Linked DNA regions of Homo sapiens: all the other regions are linked to region 1. The links are contacts of gene promoters, found by promoter capture Hi-C in human tissues and cell types (Jung and others, 2019). All regions are on one chromosome and are shown on one strand. Each heading gives the region's core, a stretch centred on a gene start or on the middle of the fragment in contact. The rest is flanking DNA. Distances are from core to core; before and after follow the strand shown. Region 1 holds the start of BIRC5 (baculoviral IAP repeat containing 5). Region 2 holds the start of LGALS3BP (galectin 3 binding protein). Region 3 overlaps USP36 (ubiquitin specific peptidase 36). Region 4 overlaps CYTH1 (cytohesin 1).

Evidence for each region. The method cuts DNA at HindIII sites, captures the fragments that hold promoters and counts their contacts. A contact is called where the count stands out against the background at its distance.
Region 2: the fragment with the promoter of LGALS3BP here is called in contact with the fragment with the promoter of BIRC5 in region 1 in 1 of the 25 tissues and cell types used here (spleen).
Region 3: a fragment that was not itself captured here is called in contact with the fragment with the promoter of BIRC5 in region 1 in 2 of the 25 tissues and cell types used here (dorsolateral prefrontal cortex and spleen).
Region 4: a fragment that was not itself captured here is called in contact with the fragment with the promoter of BIRC5 in region 1 in 2 of the 25 tissues and cell types used here (dorsolateral prefrontal cortex and spleen).

What each region holds. Positions count from the first base shown.
Region 1 is chr17:78,212,772-78,215,765 of GRCh38, reverse strand. BIRC5 (baculoviral IAP repeat containing 5) reads right to left here and starts at 1,513. Exons shown (of 4, transcript NM_001168.3): 1 at 1,339-1,513; 2 at 977-1,086. The coding sequence starts at 1,449. RefSeq lists an enhancer at 867-1,768. The HindIII fragment of the contact is 20,243 bases long and covers 1-2,994 here.
Region 2 is chr17:78,978,530-78,981,523 of GRCh38, reverse strand. LGALS3BP (galectin 3 binding protein) reads left to right here and starts at 1,601. Exons shown (of 6, transcript NM_005567.4): 1 at 1,601-1,700. RefSeq lists an enhancer at 575-1,567. The HindIII fragment of the contact is 8,620 bases long and covers 1-2,994 here.
Region 3 is chr17:78,827,640-78,830,633 of GRCh38, reverse strand. It overlaps USP36 (ubiquitin specific peptidase 36), which reads left to right. Exons shown (of 21, transcript NM_001385174.1): 5 at 1,627-1,737. Among named protein-coding and RNA genes, the nearest start is that of USP36, 12 kb to the left of the region's middle. The HindIII fragment of the contact is 3,104 bases long and covers 1-2,994 here.
Region 4 is chr17:78,726,874-78,729,867 of GRCh38, reverse strand. The region is part of intron 1 of CYTH1 (cytohesin 1); the gene reads left to right. Among named protein-coding and RNA genes, the nearest start is that of CYTH1, 54 kb to the left of the region's middle. The HindIII fragment of the contact is 3,980 bases long and covers 1-2,994 here.

The sequences.
Region 1 (2,994 bases), core at 264-2,763:
ACACTTATTCATTTTCAAGAAGAATACCACTGATCTTTTCCCAGTGATTACGGGGATGCAGTATAACCACCATAGCAAACATACTAAGAAAAAAAACAGCTACTCTCTTCTGGCCAAAAAGAAAAACAACTGGGGTGATTCTCCAGGGGAAAAAAATTAAAGCTGTGGAAGCAACTGAATCCGACAGAAAAAAAGGTGAGAAAAGAATATGGCATTACAGTGTGGAAAGACAGATACCATCCGAGTACAGAATTTCATTGTCATTAACTAGGCATCTTGAAGAAAAAAATCCAGAACAACACTGAAGTATATGCTTTCTTTCTTTTTTTTTTTTCAATTTTTTATTTTTATGACGGAGTCTCGCTCTGTCGCCGAGGCTGGAGTGCATTGGCACAATCTCGGCTCACTGCAACCTCCGCCTCCCAGGTTCAAGCGATTCTCCTGCCTTAGCCTCCCGAGTAGCTGGGATTACGGGCGTGCGCTACCATGCCCGGCTAATTTTTGTATTTTTAGTAGAGACGGGGTTTCGCCAAGTTGGCCAGGCAGGTCTTGAACTCCTGACCTCAGGTGATCCGCCCGCCTCAGCCTCCGAAAGTGTGAAGTGCACACTTTCAAAGGGTAATTTTTGTGCTGTGTAGGTTATATTTCAATTAAACTGTTTTTTAAAAAATCTCAAAAAAAGCACTTGGACGTTCCTGGGAGTTCACAACAACAGGGTCTGCTGATGTATTCTGTTGAACATGAAAGGCATCAGGCATCTTACGTCCACCCCAAGGCATTTTGGTCAAATGAGATTTAATTAGGTTGTAAGCATCACCAAGGCACCAGCATATAGAGAGGTATCCGTTCACAACAGCTGTTTAAGAAGCAATGAGGGTGGAAAGCAACCCTCCCATACTAAGTGTCTTTGCAACTCAAATCTTTTGACAACTCAGTTCAAAACAAAGCCCATCGAGGCTGGCCAGAGAAGACTTACATGGGGTCGTCATCTGGCTCCCAGCCTTCCAGCTCCTTGAAGCAGAAGAAACACTGGGCCAAGTCTGGCTCGTTCTCAGTGGGGCAGTGGATGAAGCCAGCCTCGGCCATCTGCAAGGGACAGCACAGCTCGTGAGTGGACGTGGCAGCCCGGAACCCCGAGGCCCAGCCACAAAGGCCTCGATGGGGACAAAGCAGGGAGGGGAGGCCGGCCTGGACCCAAGGGGCCCAGCCACAGTGGCCTCGCTGGGGACAGGACGGGGAGGGGAGGGCGGCTTGTACCCCCGAGGCCCAGTCACAGTGGCCTCGCTAGGGACAGGGCAAGGCGGGCGTGGGGGACCCCAGGAGGCCGGGCAGTCTCACCCGCTCCGGGGTGCAGGCGCAGCCCTCCAAGAAGGGCCAGTTCTTGAATGTAGAGATGCGGTGGTCCTTGAGAAAGGGCTGCCAGGCAGGGGGCAACGTCGGGGCACCCATGCCGCCGCCGCCACCTCTGCCAACGGGTCCCGCGATTCAAATCTGGCGGTTAATGGCGCGCCGCGGGGCATGTCGGGAGCGCACGCCCTCTTAGGCGGTCCACCCCCCGCGGCCTTCTGGGAGTAGAGGCGGGGCGGCGCGGGGTGTGCCGGGAGTTGTAGTCCTCCCGCCGCGTGGCTCTGCCCGTGGTCGCGGTGCACCCAGCGACGCCGCGCCAGCTCGTCCCTGCCCACACCTAGCGCCCCCTCGACTGCTTTCAAAGAACGCGTGCAGGCCGGGTGCAGTGGCTCACGCCTGTAATCCCAACACTTTGAGAGGCCTAGGCAGGAGCATCACTTGAGTCCTGGAGTTCAAGACCAGCCTGGCCATCACGGTGAAACCTTGTCTCTACTAAAAATACAAAAATTAGCTGGGCGTGGTGGTGCATGCCTGTAATCCCAACTACTCGGGAGGCTGAGGCAGGAGAATCGCTTGAACCCGGGAGGCAGAGGGTGCAGTGAGCTGAGATTGTGCCATTGCACTCCAGCCTAGGCAACAAGAGCAAAACTCAGTCTAAAAAAAAAAAAAAAGTCAGACAGGAGAGCTTTACAGGGTGCCACCTCTGCAAAAAGCATCTACTCCAGACGGGCATGAAGGACAAATGAACAGGGGAGGGATGGAGTGCAGCAGACATCGCTGTCCCGGCGAGTACATCGTTGACTGCACGACCTGGGTTTCCAGGAGGGCCACCTTCTGGAGTCAGGGGCCAGGGACTGGGCCACTACCGTGATAAGAAGACAAGGGAGCTGGGGAAAGCCCAGTGGAGGGTGGGGGCCTGTGCTCAGGGCAAACTCCTCCTTTCCCTTCGCAAAGCAGGGCGTCCCACCAACAGTAAGTCCTGCAGCCTATTAAAAAAAAAATCAGTGTGTCCTCTGCTTTGGAACAGGGTGTTCTGGAGTCACTTCTGGAGCTGGGCATCACATCCACTCACTTCTCTGGTTCTATGGCCAGAGATAAGAGGCCTGGCCTTATTAGCCCTCCAGCCCCACGCAGGCCTGGTGCCTCCACTGTCTTTTTCATTTTGGGGTTTATTTATTTATTTATTTATTTTTGCAACCTCTCCCCACCCCTCCCACCCCGCCCCCATTCTTTAATACAGTAACTTTTTATTTTGATGTTTATTTATTTATTTGAAACTGAGTCTCGCTCTATCGCCCAGGCTGGAGTGCAGTGGCATGATCTCAGCTCACTGCAACCTCCTCCCCGCCACGGGTTCAAGCGATTCTCCTGCCTCAGCCTCCCGAGTAGCTGAGATTAAAGGCATGCACCACCACACCAGGCTAATTTTTGTATTTTTAGTAGAGATGGGGTTTCACCATGTTTGCCAGGCTGGTCTCAAACTCCTGACCTCAAGTGATCTGCCTGCCTCGGCCTCCCAAAGTGCTGGGATTACAGATGTGAGCCACTGCGCCCGGCCCGATGTCAATTTAAATAAAAGATAATTGCAAGAATAGTACAAAGAATACTCATATACCCTTCACCCAGATTTTCTGTTTATGTTTTGCC
Region 2 (2,994 bases), core at 352-2,851, 770 kb before region 1:
TAAAACCTTTCCCAGCACTTCCCAGAGATGCCCTCCCGTCCTCTGCACTCCTGTCCTTCCCTGGCCACTTGGGCAGAAGTCATTAGCACTGCTGAGAAGGGATGATGCTGGGGTTTCTGTGCACTCAGGCCCTTAATCCAGATGAGATTTTTTTAAACTCCCCACAGCCAGTTCTATTTCCAGCTGCACCTGCCCCTGGATCTTCACAGTTCCTCTGGAGGGGATTAGGCAAACCGTGCAGCTGCCTAAAACCTCACACCTTGAAGGAAATAGTCATTGAATGTCTGACCTCTGGGCTGGCTGTCTCGGACTCTAAGCTGCCAGGGAACCAGGGCCTTCCACCCAGTGGGACTGCCTGGGGGCTTTTAAATGCCCCTGCCTGTCCCCTACTCCCAGAGATGGTGACTTCCTGGGTCTAGGCATTAGGAGTTTGTAAAACTCCCTGATGATTCTTCTGTCCAGCCCAGGCTGAGAACCACTGGTCAGAGGCCTGGGCACATCCCAAGGCTCATCCAGAACCATGGGGTGCAAGTGACAGAAACAAGAGCGGCTGCTGATTGCCTCACTGAGCGGTGAAGCCCAGCCTTGACCATGGATTAGGCCAGCTGGACCCAGGAGCTCAGGCCGGAGGATGCCTGCTTCCCTCTGCTCTGCCCCACCGGCCCCAGCAGCCTGGGCCCACATCCTCTCAGTCAGAAGCTGGCTCTCACCGGCTGGCTGGGCTCACAGCCCCACCCTGAAACCAGCAGTGTGGCCCGGGGCCCCCGCAGGGCTCAGACAGCCAGGCCTTGGGTGGTTGAAGGCCAAGAGCTGGGGGCCCTCTGGGAACCACACAGCCGGGAATGGGAGGGGGTGCTCCCCAAGGGACAGTTGAGGTGCCGGCTTTCAGTGGGAGGAAAGGGAATGGGTATGAGCTGGACAGAGCCATTATGTCACCCAGAGAGGCTCTGTCCCCCGCCCCGCTGAGGGGGAGACAGTAGGAGAGTGGCCACAGGTCCAGCAGTGGCGAGCACAGGCTCTGGGGTCAGGTGTTGGAGCAGGGTCCAGCTCCTCCACTGGCCAGCTGCATACCTGGTTCTCAGTGCCTCCCTCCCCTGGGGACAGGGGACAGTGCCATGCAACCTTGTGGGGCACAGGCCCTCTGTGTGGTCAGCATGCCAAGAGCACAGAGAGGGTGGATTTGCACATAAGCAGCCCCCTGTGTGGTGTTCACCCAGCCAGCAACGTGCTAGACCCAGGAAAAGACTCGGAGCGCTCTGTCAGAGTCCACAGCCACACCACCAGGTGCAGACTGTCTGGGCCCAGAGCCTCTGCTTCTTCCCCTCCCGTCCACCAAACGCCAGCCCCTGACCAGCCTGGCGGCCTTTCCAACTGAGTGTGGCTGTTAGTCCTCTTGCAGGCCTTGCTCCAGCCAGACTCCCACCTTGGGCCTCTGCCAGCCTGGCACTGATAGCCACAGGCAGAGCTGAGACAAAAGAGAGGGGCCCTGGGGAGTATCAGCAGCAGCCAATCCCGGAAGACATCTATGTCAGGTGGTTTCTGGAAATCGAAAGTAGACTCTTTTCTGAAGCATTTCCTGGGATCAGCCTGACCACGCTCCATACTGGGAGAGGCTTCTGGGTCAAAGGACCAGTCTGCAGAGGGATCCTGTGGCTGGAAGCGAGGAGGCTCCACACGGCCGTTGCAGCTACCGCAGCCAGGTAAGCTCCTGCCTCTAGCTCTCAGGTGGGCACCCCTCTCAGTCTCTCTCTCTTTTTTATTTTTATTTTTTTTGAGACAGGGTCTCACTCTGTCACCCAGGCTGGAGTACAGTGATGCAATGTCCGCTCACTGCAGCCTCTGCCTCCTGGGTTCAAACGATTCTCCTGCCTCGGCCTCCCAAGTAGCTGGGATTACAGGCGCGTGCCACCACGCCCAGCTAATTTTTGTATTTTTAGTAGAGACAGGGTTTCGCCATCTTGGCCAGGCTGGTCTCAAACTCCTGACCTCTGGTGATCCACCCGCCTCGGCCTCCCAAAGTGTAGGGATTACAGGTGTGAGCCACCGCGCCCGGCCAGGGCACCCCTCTCTCTACACAGGCAAGTGGGGGTCATGCCTCCCTGTTTGCACATAGGCCTGGAGCTGGGGATCCAGGGCTCCTGAGTCCAGCAACAATCATTGCTGCTCCCAGGCCCACAGGGCCTCTGTGTACAGTTGGGCAGATTACTCACTGCACAAGGATACCAGCCAAAGGGCAAGTGGGTTAGAATTCAGCTTGGCCCTCTCTCAGACCTGTGCATTTGGCCTAGGCCTGCACCCACTCCAAGGAAGAGCACCTTTTTTTCTGATTTGCACGAAGGGGCCAACACAGGCAGCCGGGTCTCAACTGTATGAAGGAATCAGGCAAAAATAGCCGCTGCCACACAAAGGGCAGCGACGCCACCTGCCAGGTGCTTCGTTGCCCCCCCCCCTTTTTTTTTTGAGACAGAGTCTTGCTCTGTCACCCAGGCTGGAGTGCAGCGGCTCACTACAATCTCTGCCTGCCGGATTCAAGCAATTCTGTTGCCTCAGCCTCCTGAGTAGCTGGGACTACAGGTGCACACCACCATGCCCAGCTTATTATTATTATTATTTTGTATTTTTAGTAGAGCCGGGGTTTCACCATGTTGGCCAGGCTGGTCTTGAACTCCTGACCTCAAGTGATCCACCTGCCCCAGCCTCCCAAAGTTCTGGGATTACAGGCGTGAGCCATCGCGCCTGGCCAGTTGGCCATTTTTCCAAGGCCCTGAGTTACTCTCCCAGGACGGACAAACCTAGTGGCTGCAGCAGAGTGAAGTGGCTGGGGGCAGAAGTGGAGAGGGCGTCCACCCATACCGGCGTGCCTGGGACTGAGGGGTTTCCCAGGACACAGGGAAACTTCAGTGCTAAAACCAGCACAGTCCCCAGCACACAGGACAGGCGGTCACACCCTGGCCCCTTTAGCCATCTACTGACATTGACACAGGGAGGAGAGGT
Region 3 (2,994 bases), core at 274-2,773, 610 kb before region 1:
GTTATGAGATGGATCTATTTGATAATAGATAATAGGTAATGCACTGTGTAGTAGACAACAGTATCTAGCAGATTTGAAGGCGTGCTTGCCCTTTGGTCCAGAAATTTGTCTTCTGAGCGTGTACTTTAGAGAAACTGACCCATGTGCTCAAGGAGACAGGTGCAGGATTGTTCATTGCAAAATGTCTATGATAGCAGAGAAAATGGAAAGGCTAAATGTGTGTTAGTGGTGGATACATAAATAACAGTGGTCTCTTCATTCAGTGAAATATTCTAGCTGGAAGATTTGAAGGAACTGGAGCTATGTCTAGCAACATGGATTTTTGTAAAGCCATTGCTGAATGATACGTAACTGCATGATACGATTTATAGAAAGGAAGTTTGGAAACATGTAGCTACAGTGCCATTTATTGTTCATGGATACACATGTGTGTGATAATACATGAATGAGAACGATAATTGCCTAATTCAGGATAGTGGTGACTTTGAATGAAGGTACATGGAAAATGGGGTTGAGAGAGATTGAGGGGAGTTCGGCGATCACAGCAGTGTTTATTTACATCATAATTTGAAAGGTAAAAATGTACCACTGTCGGGGCTGGGCTCGATGGCTCACGCCTGTAATCCCAGCACTTTGGGAGGCTGAGGCAGGTGGATCACAAGGTCAGGAGTTCGAGACCAGCCTGGCCAGCATGGTGAAACTCTGTCTCTACTAAAATACAAAAAATTAGCCTGGCATGGTGGCACGAGCCTGTAGTCCCAGCCACTTGGGAGGCTGAGGCAGGAGAATTGCTTAAACCCGGCAGGCGGAGGTTGCAGTGAGCCAAGATTGTGCCACTGCACTCCAGCCTGGGTGACAGTGAGACTCTGTCTCAAAAAAAAAGGACCACTGTCTAGCCTAATGCCTAGTGAGGCGTTTTATGTAGCGCAGGGGTGGGCAGACTCATCTGGCCTGCTCTCTGTGTGTGTAAATAAAGTTTTATTGAACACGTTCATACCCCATTGTTCATATATTGTCTATGGCTGCCTCCTCTACAATACAGGAGCATAGTTGTGACTAGACTGTATAGCCCTCAGATAGGAAAGGATTTGCTATCTGGATCTTCCCAGAAAACATTTTCAACCCCAGATGTATCCTAGCGAGGTGTTTACTAGAACCAGTGGAACAGACGGTCCCATATCTGAGGCACTACTAAGGGGCTGTCAGCCCTAAAATATTTTAGCCTATTTACCATGTGATGCAGCTTAGAAATTCGAGAATACATCGTTTAAGCTTCATTTTGAAAATCTGCCTTAGTCTTTTTATAAGTAAATAATACTAGTGAAATCTGAAAAGGATCATGCACAGGTCAGCATTAATGTGGGGTGATGGTGTGAGGTTGTGATGGTGAGAGTTTCAGCTTTGGATGGATCATAGCTTCCAAACGCCATCCAGCAGAGAATAACATTTCCTTGGTGGTCACCCAGTCAGCAGAGGTCTGGGATCTCTGGCTCAGCCGTTCTCTCACAGCCTGGTTTGCTCTTACCTGCTTGTGTTTCTGGCTGTGTTAACGTTTGGGGTGGGGGCCTCACCGTGAGTTCTTTGAAAGCTCTTGTCTTAAAATTGCTCCTCCTTCCACGCCGGCAGGCCACCAGGGAAGCTTCTGCATGCTGTGTGTCATGCAGAACCACATTGTCCAGGCCTTCGCCAACAGCGGCAACGCCATCAAGCCCGTCTCCTTCATCCGAGACCTGAAAAGTAAGCATCAATCCATGTTAAAATTTTTGTGATTTATTTATTTTTTAATTTTTTGTAGAGATGGGGTTCTCGCTATGTTGCCCAGGCTGGTCTTAAATTCCTGGCCTTAAGCAGTCCTTCCGTTTTGGCCTGCCAAAGTGTTGGGATTACAGACACGAGCCACTGTGCCATTCTCCATCTGTTACTGAAGGCCTGCTAAGTGCTCGCCCTGTAGGAGGTGCTGGGGAGTTGGTAGAAGGGAGAGAAGAGTGAGTCATGGATGAAGTCTTGGGAATCCCTCTGTGCTAACAGCCCTGCATGTGGTGGTGCAGACTCAAGGAATAGCAGTTTAGAGACATGTGGGCTGGGGTCAGTGGGGAAGCCTCTTAGTGGGGGCAGGTCAGGACAGGTAGCTTTTCCTTTGGGCAGGTGGAGGAGTTATTGTGTATTTGGGGCAGGCAGGTGGGCCTGAGGGAGAGCTGGGAGGAGGGATGGATGAGGAATGTACCAATTCCATTCTGAATATCAGGAATCAGTTGCCTATGCTATAAAAAAGTCTCATTCACATTCACTTGGCAGAAAGAAGAGGCCTATTACCGGTTTTTGAAATCTGTGTAAATTGTAGCACTGTGAAATACTTACTCACCTGTGTTTTATATTGGCTTTTGGAGAGATATTCAATGGATTTTACATTCTTTTTGTTTGAGACAGGGTTTTGCTCTTATACCTAGGCTGGAGGACAGTGGTGCAATCACAGCTCGCTGCAGCCTCAAACTCTTGGACTCAAGCAGTCGGCCTTGGCCTTCTGAGTAGCTGGGATTACAGGCGCACCACACTTGACTGTTTTTGTATTGTTTGTAGAGATGGGGTCTGGCCATGTTGCCCAGGCTGGTCTCCAACTCCCAGCTCCAAGCGATCCTCCTGCCTTGGCCTTCCAAAGTGTTGGGATTACAGGCATAAGCCATTGCATCCTGCCGGATTTTACATTCTTTATTCTTTTTCTTTCTGAGATAGAGTCTTGCTCTATTGCCCAGGCTGGAGATTGCAGTGGTGAGATCATAGCTCACTGCAGCCTCAACCTCCTAGGCTCAACCCATCCTCCTGCCTCAGCCACCTAAGTAGCTGGGACTACAGGCACATGCCATCATGCCTGGCTAATTTTTTTATTTTTTATTTTGGTAGAGATGAAGTCTCCCTATGTTACCCAGGCTGCCCTCGAACTCCTGGGCTCAAGTGATCCTCCCACCCAGGCCTCCTGAAGTGTTAGAGTGACAGGTG
Region 4 (2,994 bases), core at 258-2,757, 510 kb before region 1:
CCTGCTAGCAGTTTCAAGTGTGTCCTTCTCAGAAGCTCCCTGTGTGTTTAGCAAGCGTAGGTGTTACTTGTGAGAAGGTATTCTGTGCCATCCTGTTTCACCAGATGTGTCTTAGAGATCTTTTCATGTTAGCATTTACAAATCACCTCATTCTTTTAAATTACCAAGTAGTTTTTAGGTAGTTTAAAATTTTTGGAATTTGGGGAGCATATCCACTCTTAAGTGGAATTTAAGAATCAAATTCATAAGTTTGATTCAAATCAAATCAAAAGGTGTGTGCTCTTTATGTTTTGCTAGTGCCAAAAGGTTGTACCAGTTTACACTCTCCCAGCAGCACGGGAGACTGCCTGTGTAGCCCACTCCCCTGACAGTATTTCGTCTCATCTGGCATTCTGATTCCTGCCAGACTAATGGAAAATGGTATGTTATTCATGTTTTAATTTGCATTAAACACATAGTGACTGTGAGCATCTTCTTCTGTGTGACCATTTGTATTTCTCTTTTTGTAATCTGTCTTTTATATCCTTTGCTCATTGTATTCATCTTTGCTTTACTAATTTTTATGCTGCTTTCTTTGTGACTTAAATAAATTAACCCTAGCCAGGTGTGGCACATACTTATAGTCCCAGCTATTCTGGAGGCTGAGGTGGGAGTATCGCTTGAGGCCAGGAGTTTGAGGCTGCAGTGAGCTATGATCACACCACTGCACTCCAGCCTGGGTACAGAGTGAGACCCTCTCTCTAAAAATAATAAGTTAATTAATTTAAAAAAAGATATTAACCCTTTGTCATATGTTTTGTGAATTTATTGTCCTAGTTGTTTACCTTTTAGCTTATGGGATATTATTTTTCACTCAGAAGCTTTTCATTTTCATGTCGCAAATGAGCAGACTCACCAATATTATGACTATACTAATTCATGCTCTATTCTAGAATTATTCAGGTTTTATTTTACATTAACATCTTTGATTAAGCTAGAATTCATTTCAGCTTAGTTTTATCCCAAATGGCTAGCTGGCTATTTATTTGCTCAGCACCCTTGACTGAATAATCCTATTTTTCTTTACCGATTCAAAGTGCTACGTGTGTGTTTCAGTATTTCTTGAGTTTGTTTTCTGGTCTTTTTCTTCCGTTGCAGTTTCAATTACCAAAGCCTCACGTGCTTTAATCTCAGGTAGCTACACCCTCACGTTACCCTTTCTCCCTTTCATATTTTTCTGACTATTGTCATATATATTTTTTCCCATGTGAAGTTTAATATCCTTTTTATTATATTTCTGTAAACATCATGTTGGTAATGTAAATAATTTTTTTTTTTTTGAGATGGAGTTTCGCTCTCATTACCCAGGCTGGAGTGCAATGGCGTGGTCTTGGCTCACTGCAACCTCTGCCTCCCTGGTTCAAGTGATTCTCTTGTAATACCAGCCTCCCAAGTAGCAGGGATTACAGGCATGTGCCACCACACCTGGCTAATTTTGTATTTTTAGTAGAGATGGGGTTTCACCATGTTGGTCAGGCTGGTCTCAAACTCCTGACCTCAAGTGATCCACCCACCTCGGCCCCCAAAAGTGCTGGAATTACAGGAGTGAGCCACTGCACCCGGCGTAAATAATGTTTTTAAACATCGTGGTGTATGTACGAGAACTTTGATTACTGGGGTCTTTCTACCTTTGCTCAGGTCCCCTTTGTTTTCCATGTTTCTTTTTCCTGTCTAGATGAGAGGCTGGCCCTGCTGCAGGAACCAGCCTGGCTTGGGGAGGATTTACCAGTGTTTGGGGTAGAATAGAGTTTGTCCAGAGAAACTGACTATATCGTGCCACCTAGAGGTGGGCATCCATTTGTCGTGGAGGGAGGCCATAGGACACCTGCATGATATCAGGGACTCACTGCCCTCTCATGGGTCAGCACCTCTTCAGCTAGTTCTGGAGTGGGTGTGCTGCCCTGGATCTCAAAGGTGCAGAGCTTGGCCTGCCTTCTGCTCCTCCTCACTGCTCTCCTTGGCTGCCCCTGCCATAGGTCTCGTCTTTCTTCCTCCTACAGTTCTGCCCCCTGCATGGGCAGGAGATAGGGGACGGTCCAAGAGCAGCCTCATGAGAGCAGCCAAGACAGAGAAGAAGAAGCCTGCCCTCCTAACACACTGAGTTGGCACCAGAAGGATGCACTCGCCAGGAGGCTTGGGTCGGCCGTGCCTGCTCCAGCCTTGCCCTGCTGGTAGGTGGAGGCAGGGGGCCAGTATCCTGGACCTTCCCGCGACTTGGAAGGCTGGTGCCCTAGTCAGCTCCTTCTTACACCTCTCCCAAACTTTTGCAAACCCGGACTCGGGGCAACTCTGGTAAGGGTGATGTCTGGAACAGGGAGCCAGTTTGTTTCTATTTTGAGGTGCAGGTAGAAATGACCTTCCTTTCAAGAGATCTTCAAGGACTTCTCAGAGCAGGAACAGATGCCAGTTTTTGCTTCTTTGAAGAAGATTTTATGCTCCTAGCATTTACTAAAGAATAATGAGGCATTTTTAAGTGTAAGGAGTGGAATAGAATTTAAAGAAAAAAGTAAAAAAAACCCCAGGCCTCTGTTTTCATGGGACACAGAAGGAGGGGAGATTGAGAATGCTGACTCGCCTAAAAGCTTTATGCTTATCATGTCTGTGGTGCTTGGAGCCTGTGGCCCAGGTGATTTGGGGTTTGGGGACGCCTCATGGGCAGAGAGGACCTTTGAGCAGCATTGTGAATTCGTGGGTTTGGGATGCTGATGAAACTGCGAGATTTGAATGTATTCCTTGTGCCTCATTTTCCGCTTTAGAAATAAAATGATTGATGCACATTGCCCTTGCACGCTTGTCAGAGGGTCACTTTCTGGTTGCACCTGTCCTTGAGCCTGAGAGAGAGAACTGGAAAGAGGATGGGAAGTCAGTAGTGGTTTGGGGAATTAGTGCTGGATAAGGATGGTAGTTGAAGGTGTGAGTTGGAGTAGGGCAAAAAACCACTTATTTCTTTGCTAC